Regions from separate parts of the Homo sapiens genome. Here all the other regions are linked to region 3. Evidence: promoter capture Hi-C in human tissues and cell types (Jung and others, 2019). All regions are on one chromosome and are shown on one strand. The core of a region is centred on a gene start or on the middle of the fragment in contact, and the rest is flanking DNA. Distances in the headings are between cores, read along the strand shown.

Evidence for each region. Contacts are between HindIII fragments. The study calls those that stand out against the background at their distance.
Region 1: a contact is called between a fragment that was not itself captured here and the fragment with the promoter of CNDP2 in region 3, in 3 of the 25 tissues and cell types used here (lymphoblastoid cells, mesenchymal stem cells and spleen).
Region 2: a fragment that was not itself captured here is called in contact with the fragment with the promoter of CNDP2 in region 3 in 1 of the 25 tissues and cell types used here (spleen).

Annotation. Positions count from the first base shown.
Region 1 is chr18:74,066,780-74,070,132 of GRCh38, reverse strand. No RefSeq gene overlaps it. Among named protein-coding and RNA genes, the nearest start is that of FBXO15, 79 kb to the left of the region's middle. The HindIII fragment of the contact is 9,534 bases long and covers 1-3,353 here.
Region 2 is chr18:74,039,282-74,042,400 of GRCh38, reverse strand. No RefSeq gene overlaps it. Among named protein-coding and RNA genes, the nearest start is that of FBXO15, 110 kb to the left of the region's middle. RefSeq lists enhancers at 1,309-1,438, 1,313-1,607. The HindIII fragment of the contact is 4,124 bases long and covers 1-3,119 here.
Region 3 is chr18:74,494,715-74,497,697 of GRCh38, reverse strand. CNDP2 (carnosine dipeptidase 2) reads right to left here and starts at 1,335. Exons shown (of 12, transcript NM_018235.3): 1 at 1,267-1,335. RefSeq lists enhancers at 227-326, 710-1,222, 1,780-2,049 and silencers at 820-869, 1,000-1,509. The HindIII fragment of the contact is 9,626 bases long and covers 1-2,983 here.

The DNA.
Region 1 (3,353 bases), core at 765-3,264, 430 kb after region 3:
TTATCAAAAATGTATAACAAGGATGGTAACATGGGGAAACATCAGACAAATATAGGTTGGAGGGAACTCTGCACTTAAATTTGTACTTGTAGTCTACATTCCCCTTTAAAAGTGTCGGGGTCATAAAAGGCAATGTCTCCTCGACTGGAGGGGGCAGATGAAAGCAACGCGTGATCTCAGATGGGATCCTGGATCAGAAGATGGCACTAATGGAACCACAGGTGAAATGCGAAAAGGGCTGTAGTTTATAGCATGTCAGCATTCATTTCCTGACTTTAATATCAAAATGTGACGTCACCATTTGGTGAGTCTGAATGACGGGCATATGGGAAAACTTTGTTATATTTTTGCAACTGTTTTGTAAACCTGAAATTGTTTCAAAGTAAAAAGTTAACAAAAAAAAAAAAAGGTTTTCACATCTTCCCATGCCCTTTGTTTTGTGGAATTCAGGCTGTCTTTGTCAGTCTATTTGCCTTGCTCTCAGGGTTGCCTGTTGGAGCCTCTGTGTCTGCTCATATTTAAGACTGAGGCCCTCAGAAGTGCAGCAGGAGGTCAGCCGAGGGAACCCACTTGTGCAGGAGGTCTGCCGAGGGGACCCACTTGTCAACTGATGGGTACACTGGAGTAATTGGGCCCTGCACTGCGTTTGGTACTGGGACCTCCAAATATGCGTATTAGGAAGTCTGTTCTTTAGGGCTGCCAGTTTCTTCACAGGAGAATTCTCCCATTTCACAAGAGCCCAGGGTTGCACAAGAGTCCCTCGTGTAAAGGGTGTGGAGAGGGGCTTGCTGTGGTTACAGCCTGGAGAAAGTAAACCTGCCACAGCTTGGGCCATGCTGAGAAGGGAACAGCATGTCCAGATAGAGTTGGACTTGATTCTTTACATGATCGGAAGTTCTTAAATGTTTTGCTTTGTTTTCATATACAAAGGTAATACATTCAAATAATAGGAAGATATAAATCAGAATATAAATGAAAATTTTGTTTCTAAACTACTCCACCTCCATTTGGCCAAAGCAAACTGTCATTGGTTGGACGTGGTTTCCACACAGATGGGAAAGGATGGATTGGAGCAGGAGGACGTGAAGGCAGGGATAACAGGTGGGAGGTCGTGGTGGGAATCTGAGCAGAAGTAACATTTGTGTGCTTTTGGCCTCCTATGATTAAGGGTGTGAGAAAGGGAAGTGGACCAGGACATGAAGCAAAAGATCTTAGGGGAAAATAATTTACCTTAGTAGTATTTAGGTGACCAGAGCTTTCCAAACGTTAGCAATTTGAAAACAACTGGGAAATCTACTTTGGGAGACACTTAAAAATGTCTTTCTCCAGGTTCCTAAATGACAAGACAATATATATTTTTTTTAAATCAAGGAGTTCAGTTTGATAATTATTTTTAGTTTTTTTCTTTTGAAGCACTCTCAAAACTTACAGAACTGTTACAAGTGCAGTTCAAATAACTTTTTTTTAAATGACTGAATCATTTGAGAGTAAGTTGCTAACAGGTTGCCCCATCACCTCTCAATACTTTAATGTATATTTCCTACAAACAAGGATAGTTTCCTAATAACATAATCACAGCCACCACAATCAGGAGATCAACACAACTGATGACAATGATCTCATGCTTAGACCGCCCCCATTCACGTTTCCCCAGTTGTCCCAGTAATGACCTCATAGCAGAAGGTCCAGTTCAGGATCAGGTGCTGTGTTTGGTTGGCCCATGGCTCTCCTCCCCTTCACTCTGGAATGGCTCACCAGGCTTCTTGACTATTACGACCTTGATACTTTTGAATGTCACAGGCCAGTTATTTAAAAGAATGTCCCTCAATATGAGCTTGTCTGATAATATGTATTTGATACTGTTTGGCTGTGTTCCCACCACATCTCATATTGAATTGTAGTTTCCATAATTCCCACGTGTTGTGGGAGGGACCTGGTGGGAGGTAATTGAATCATAGGGGCAGTTACCTCCATGCTGTTCTCATGATAGTGAGTTCTCATGAGATCTGATGATTTTATAAGGGGCTTCTCCCCCACTTCGTTCTACACTCTCCTTGTTGCTGCCATGTGAAGAAGGACATGTTTGCTTCCCCTTCCACCATGAATGTAAGTTTCCTGAGGCCTCTCCAGCCATACAGAACTGTGAGTCCATTAAACCTCTTTTCTTTATAAATTGCCCAGTCTCAGGTATCTCTTCATGGCAGCATGAGAATGGACTAATACAGCATCTTTGTCAGAAAATATTGCAGAAGTGGTGCTGTGTTCTCACTGTGTCCTATCGGGGTCATAGGATTTCAATTTGTCCCCTTACCAAACTGTTCCCTGCAGGCCCTGGATGAGAATGGTGTCTGGCATCTTCTCTGGTTACTTTTCCCACCTTAGTGATGATTATTTTGTGGGAGGTACTTTGAAACTAGGTAACTGTCCTATTCATTGGCAAACTTTTAACATATTTATTTGTTTCTATCAGTATAGAATCATGGTTTTCTTTTTTTCCTCACTGGGTTGTCATCAGTTACCATTATTATTTATTTCTGTGCTCAAATTTTCTCAGGTCTGTCTGGCAGAAGCCCTGGCTAGTGATATGTCCCCCATCACTCTCTGGACACTTCCTTTCTGGAATAAGGTGGTTCAGACTCATCCTGTACTTTCCCTGCCACAGCCCTGGAATCAGCCTTTCTTCAAAGAGCGTGGCTTCCTTCTGGTGGAGAGTATTTGGAAACAAAGATGTGGGTGCCAGGCATGCTCATTCCTACTGAGGTGTCACTGCTTCACTTCCTCTCCAAGAACAGCATCAGGAATGTAAGTATTCCCCCTCATATGTATGCTACACATTCACTTATATCCTTTTTTTAGGTTGTTGCAAAAGTAATTGCGGTTTTGCCATTACTTTTAATGGCGAAAACCGCAATTACTTATGCACGAACTTAATATATCCGCAGATATTGAAAAGCACGAATTCACTCCTGTATCTTCAGTTTCAACACAGCACCACAAGGTCATTCTTGTTTTCTCCTTTGGATGCTTGGTGCTCGCATGCCCACCTGACTCCCATCATCCTGAATCTCTTTCCTCCTCGGGGCATCCCATCCCATCTCCCATCACACCTCTCCTGCAGATGCCTCGCTTCCTCTCCTGGGCTCTGACAGATTGTGATGAGAGGCTCAGGCACAAGGAGACCCTCTGCACTATGCCAGGGCCCCCACCCCTCATGCCTCAGGGCGCCCACTCCTGTTTGTGCGGCCCTCTCATCTACTGAGGCTCAGAAATGTCACACTCAACCATTGACCTATAGGATTAAAGATTACTTTTCATGCCCACAACATCCTGGCATTCGGATGGATGATGGGCAG
Region 2 (3,119 bases), core at 462-2,961, 460 kb after region 3:
GAGTGTTAGTCTCTTTTGAGATAAATCTGTTAGTCTCTTTTGAGATAAATCACTACTAGTCTTTCAAATTGGGTTTGCATTTGTTTGTAGTTGGCCTTCAGGGTGGAGCAGCAAGGACAATGGCTAGAGCATTGCTTTTGCCACTGGGGCAGCTTTGCTTCTGTTCTGCACTCTGCTGCCCATTAATCGAGTCACCTTGTATGTGTGATTTGGTTCCCTGGGTCTCAGTTTTGTCATTTGTGAAATATCATCTGTGTAATGATAGAAAATGTCTCATAAGATTGCTGTGTTAAATAACGTGGGTAGCACCTGGCCCATAATAAATGTCCAGCTAATACAGTTATCATTTCTCCGTGTTTATACTGAGCAGTGTATTACAGAGAATTATGTCTGTGCGTATTACTTAGCAGCACGGCTGAAAAGGGAAAAGTAGAGTAGAATTGGGAATCAGGTACAGAGGCTTGGAATTTATCTACTGCAAGAATTGGCATTATTTCTTTTTGCTTTGTTTCTTTTCCTATCCTGTTGAATCATGTCCTTGGAAAGCTGAAATTAATCTCATCCTAAAATCTAGAAACTGCTAGTGTAATACATACAAAATACATACTCTTCTCATAGTTTGCATTCCTTCTGATTTAAAATAAGTTATTGAAAGATTTGTTTTCTTTTTCCAGTTCATTTATGTGATCATTTCATTGCACTCTTACTAGCATTCACAGTGTGGTATGCACTCTGCTGAATATAAGCCAGAAAGCTGAGAAAAGAGGAAGAAAAATTCAAAGAGGAAGAGTAGGAGAAAGCTTTGGTCTGGGGAGAGCTTGCAGACCCATGGGGCACATGGTCCTGAGGGCAAGTGGTCTCCATGTATTGTGGTGTATGGGCAGTGGTCTTTGCATGCTGTAGTCTCCACATACAGTGGGCTCCACATGCTGTGGTCTCTGCATGCTGTGGTCTCTGTATGCTGTGGCCGCTGTGTGCTGTGGCCTCCACGTGCAGTGGTCTCTGTGTGCCGTGGCCCCTGTGTGCTGTGGTCTCTGAGTGCTGTGGTCTCTGCGTGCTATGGCTTCTGTGTGCTCTGGTCTCTGTGTGCTGTGGTCTCTGTGTGCTGTGGCCCCCGTGTGCAGTAGTCTCTGTGTGCTGTGGCTTCTGTGTGCTGTGGTCTCCGTGTGCTGTGGTCTCTGTGTGCTGTGGTCTCCACGTGCTATGGCCCCCGTGTGCAGTGGTCTCTGCATACTGTGGTCTCTGTGTGCTGTGGCTTCTGTGTGCTGTGGTCTCTGTTTGCTGTGGTCTTTGTGTGCTGTGGTCTCCACGTACTATGGCCCCCGCGTGCAGTGGTCTCTGTGTACTGTGGTCTCTGTGTGCTGTGGTCTCTGCGTGCAGTGGTCTCTGTGCCCTGTGGCCTCTGCGTGCAGTGTTCTCTGCCTGCTGTGGTCTCTGCTTGCTGTAGGAAGGCCTCCATGGGAGCCATGTGGAGCAGGCCTGCTGCCCCCTGCTGGCGGGGTGAGGAGGCATCACCGAGACTGTTCTGTGGTGGGAAAAGGAAAGTTGTAGAAGAAAAATTTCACTAGAGGCCTGTTAAAAACGGCCAGAAAGACTTTACCCAAGACTATTGCAATAGGAGAGAGAGAGAGAGACAGAGAGAGAGAGAGAGTGCGAGAGCACGCGCGCACGCTAGAACTCAACTGTGTTGAGACGAAAAGCAGGAGTGGTTTGAAGGGTAGAAAGCTCTAAGTATGTCAGGGCAGAGGCCGGTCCGTGGGATTAGGAAAGCTGTGCTTGCTAAGTGACCTTTGTTTTCCAGGTTCCTACCTTCCCATAGAGACTGAGGAATAAGGATGCTGTCTTTCTTTTCCTCCAGCTTTATTGAGGTATAAGTGACAAAAATTGTATATCTTTAAGGTGTACTTTTTGGTGTCTTAGTATCTGTGTGCACTGTGAAATGATCACCATAATCAAGGAGGTATCTTTCTTGATGATTATATTTCAAAGTGATGGCCCTCAGGTCCTTGAGGAAGACAATTCTGGGCTATAAAACTGGCTAGAGGCTGGAGGAAGCTTTACATCTCAAAGCGGCAGATAAAGGAATCACAATGGCAAGTTTTCTAAAGTAAATGCTCTAGGAAAAGCGAAATCGGGCTCTACAGTCAGGAGGAAGCCTGCCTAAAGTTTAGTGCAGCTGAGGGGATAGTGAGGCCCTGTGAATCACAGTGAGGGGGCCAGGGAAGGATATGAGGGAGAACAAAGGGGCTCAAGGCCCAGAGAGGCTGTAGAGTGGGAATGCTCAAGCCATGGCTCCAAAAGGCACTGGCCGGCTTCAAATCCAACACCCTCACTTCCTAAGTATGTGACAGAGCCAAGTGACTTGAGCTCTTGGGCCTTGACTTCCTTTCATGTAAAATGGGCATATTGTCTGAAGGATTAAATCAAGTAATTCCTGTGAATGCTTAGCCGACTGCCTGGTGTGTGCTACGGGATAATGTAAGGGTTTTATTTGATATGATTGCATAGAGATCGCAGGCAAATAGTGTGATATTCTTGAATGGCAGGGGTTGGAGCTGAATGTCTTCATCGGGCCAGGATGGGAGGGCCTGTGTGTGTGTTCCTAAAGAGTTCAACCTTAGGGGAGGACATGAGAGTTTTAAGCAGGTTGTGACATGGTAACATGTAGATTCTTAGAACAATCTGGCATTCATGAAGAGAGTATGTGTGTTAGTCCATTTTCACACTGCTATAAAGAAATACTTGAGATTGGGTAATATATATAGAAAAGAGATTTCGTTGGCTCATGGTTCTGCAGGCTGTACAGGAAGCATGGTGGCATCAGCTTCTGGGGAGGCCTCAGAAAACTTAGAATCATGGCGGAAGGCGAACAGGAAGCTGGCACTTTACACAGCCAGGAGCAGGAGGAAGGGGGAGGGGAGGTGCTACACACTTTTAAACACCAGATCTTGTGAGAACTCTATCGCGATACAGTACCAAGGGAGGAGGCTGCTAAACCATCATGAAAACTCCACCTCCATGATCCAGTCACCTCCCACCAGGCCCCACTTCCAACCCTGGGGATTACAATTCGACATGAGATTTGGGCGGGGACACAGATTCAACCATACCAGTCCATT
Region 3 (2,983 bases), core at 86-2,585:
TCCTCCTGCCTCAGCTTCCCAAGTAGCTGGGACTGCAGGTGCGCACCACCACACCCAGCTAATTTTTGTATTTTTTGTAGAGACGGGGTTTGCTCGTGTTACTCAGGCTGGTCTCGAACTCCTGGACTCAAGCGATCTGTCCGCCTTGGTCTCCCAAAGTGCCGAGGTTACACACATGAGCCACCATGCCTGGCAAGGGAGTAACATGATTTAAATGTTGAGACTAGTGGAGGGCAGGAGAAATTGCTGTGGCACCTGGAACCGTCAGTAGTACACACAAATGAGTCTTCTAGTTCTGAGAATCTCAGTCCCTGTCCCTTGATAATTGAAGGCATATATAACACAAATAACTGAATCACACCTTCATGTCTGATTAAGAACCAATAAAAGAATCTCCAATCTGCCCAAGCTAGAACTTGATCCCTAAGCATAATGTGGACTTCTCTTCCTCCACTCCTGCCTGCAAACATTAGGGACAAGGAAGGTATTGGTAGCAGGCCCCGGGTTCTCCGCCTCTTCCTGCAGTCTATGCTTGGATGATCTACGGAATCTGACCTTGGCAGGCGGTGGGGAGTTTGGTTTGGTGGCCCTGTCTGTGAGGACCAAATATTGTCTCTATTTCACAGATGAGGAAACTGAAGCCAATTGAATAAGACACCTGCCCCAGACCATCAAGCTGGCATGGGAATTTTGTCTCCCCTCAGACGCTTCCTCCTATAGCCTTAAACGCTGCCTCAAATGCTGGCGGGAGCTAGGGACGCTGTCCAGGGCCCTTTGAACCTGGGAGGCTTCTGTCCCGCCACACTCCCCACCCCAGGTCTCCGGGAAAGGGATCCGTTGGAGAAAGGCTGGAGTTCTCAGCAGGCCCCTGGGGAGGGGTGTGGCCTGACCAGCGCTCGGCTCCCCGCAACCCCATCTCCAACCCGGGTCGTTCCACTCGACTCCACCAGGGAGGGCCACGCAGGCTCAGGCCAAGTGCGCCGCCCAGCTTGTCCCTGCGTACCGGGGACGCGCTCGGCGCTGCTGGGACACGAGTGGCCCGGAGGTGCGAGAGGCCCCGGGGCCATGGCCGTCACGGGCCTCCGCCCCCGACCGCGCGCTCGGGAACAGCCCGGACACCATTGTTCCCGCCTGGCTGCGGCCGGGCGCCCCACGCTCCCCCACGAATGAGGCGTGACTCTCGCCGCTGACCCGGGTCCTCCCCGCCCAGCCCGTTCCCAGCTCAGGGCGCCCACCCGGGAAGGAAGGTCCATCAGGAAGACCCACCTGGGAAGGAAGGCCCACTAGGCAAGGCCCTGTTACCAGCAGCAAGCGCGGCGCCGGTTCCGTACCACGTGTCCCGGCCACGACCCCCGGCGCTGGCCCGCCCCGCGGTCGCCCTGGCCACCAACCCCGCCTTGTCCGGAGGGCAGGCATCGCCACGCCCCCGCCACGCCCACCAATCCAGCCACAGGCAGAGGGGTGGTGTCACTCTCTCCCCGCCCCATTTCCGCCCTGAGCCAGGTGCGGAAGGTGACGTCACCTCTCCCAGCTCCATTTCCGTCCCGCCCACCAATCCCGGCCTGGTCCACAAGGCTTTCGCCTCGTCGCCCCTCCCCGACGGTAGACGGGGATGTGGGCGTGGCGAGGGGGCGGAGATTTCGTGGGTTGGGATTCAGGGGAGGCAGGGCACACGGGAGCGCGTGTCCGGAGCTGTGGGCTTGTGCTGTGCTTCCCGGTTGCTCTTGGGTGGGCGGGGGGCCTGGTGCTTCAACGGTGGGGTCCGAGAAGTCGCCTGCAGTGCGGCAATGGAGTCCAAAACTAGGGGGCCCTGACTCCACCCTCTGATCTCCCAGGCTCCGGAGGTCCCACGACGCTCCCATTCCCTTGCGCATCCAGCACTGCACTTTCCGTTGCGTTTCAGTCCCGGCGGAGTCGGGGCACGGACTCCTGCGGGTCACACAAGCTCCAATGAGAGGTCGGTCTGAACTGGATTAGGAAAGCGTTCGCCAGCATCGTTACCAGTAGTGGAAATATTTTAGTATTTGTGTCCCATGACCCTAGGAACTGATGAAGGAAGCAGAGCCAGCACCGTGTTTGAGCGTCTGCGACAGCGCTTTCCTTTTTAATCTTAACAACAATTCTTGGGGGTAAAATTGTTATTCCCTAGTCTGCTCACTTTTCCAATAGAGTGTTCTCAAAAGACTTTCTTTAAACTTGTACCACTACCACATTCTTTAAGGAGTGATGGCTCGGGAGTTATTATTTTTTAAAAATGAATTTAATAGTTGTAAGAGATGTATACGTTCCCACATAAAGTAAAATGTTAAAATTGTCTCCTCCCTTAAAATTTACATGGTTTGTTTCCTCTTTTTATATTTATTTATTTATTTATTTATTTATTTATTTAGAGACAGAGTCTTGCTCTGTTGCCATGCTGGAATGCAGTAGCCCAGTCTCAGCTCACTGCAAGCTCCGCCTCCCAGGTTCAAGCCATTCTGCCTCAGCCTCCCGAGTAGCTGGGACTGCAGGTGCGCACCACCGCACCCAGCTAATTTTTGTATTTTTAGTAGAGACAGGGTTTCACCATATTGGTCAAGATGGTCTCGATTTCTTGACCTACTGATCCACCCGCCTCAGCCTCCTAAAGTGCTGGGATTACAGGCGTGAGCCACCCCGTCCCCCCCATCCCTGCCTCCTCTTTTATTTTTTATTTCTATTCCACATCCCTCATAGAATTTTGTTAAATGTAACATTTTTATACTTAATAGTCTTACTCATATCCTAATCATTTCTCTACAACAGACTATGATAAAAATTTAAATTAATATTTACTTTGCTATAACCAGATGAGATTAGGCATGTTCAGGGTGGTATGGCCATAGACACTTTGCTATAACCAAAAAGCTTTAAGTATTAACATTTTTTCTTCTGGATTAAATTCTCATAATAATTATTGTACATGAATGATAAAAAGAAAAAACTATATTACACATTTTGCAAA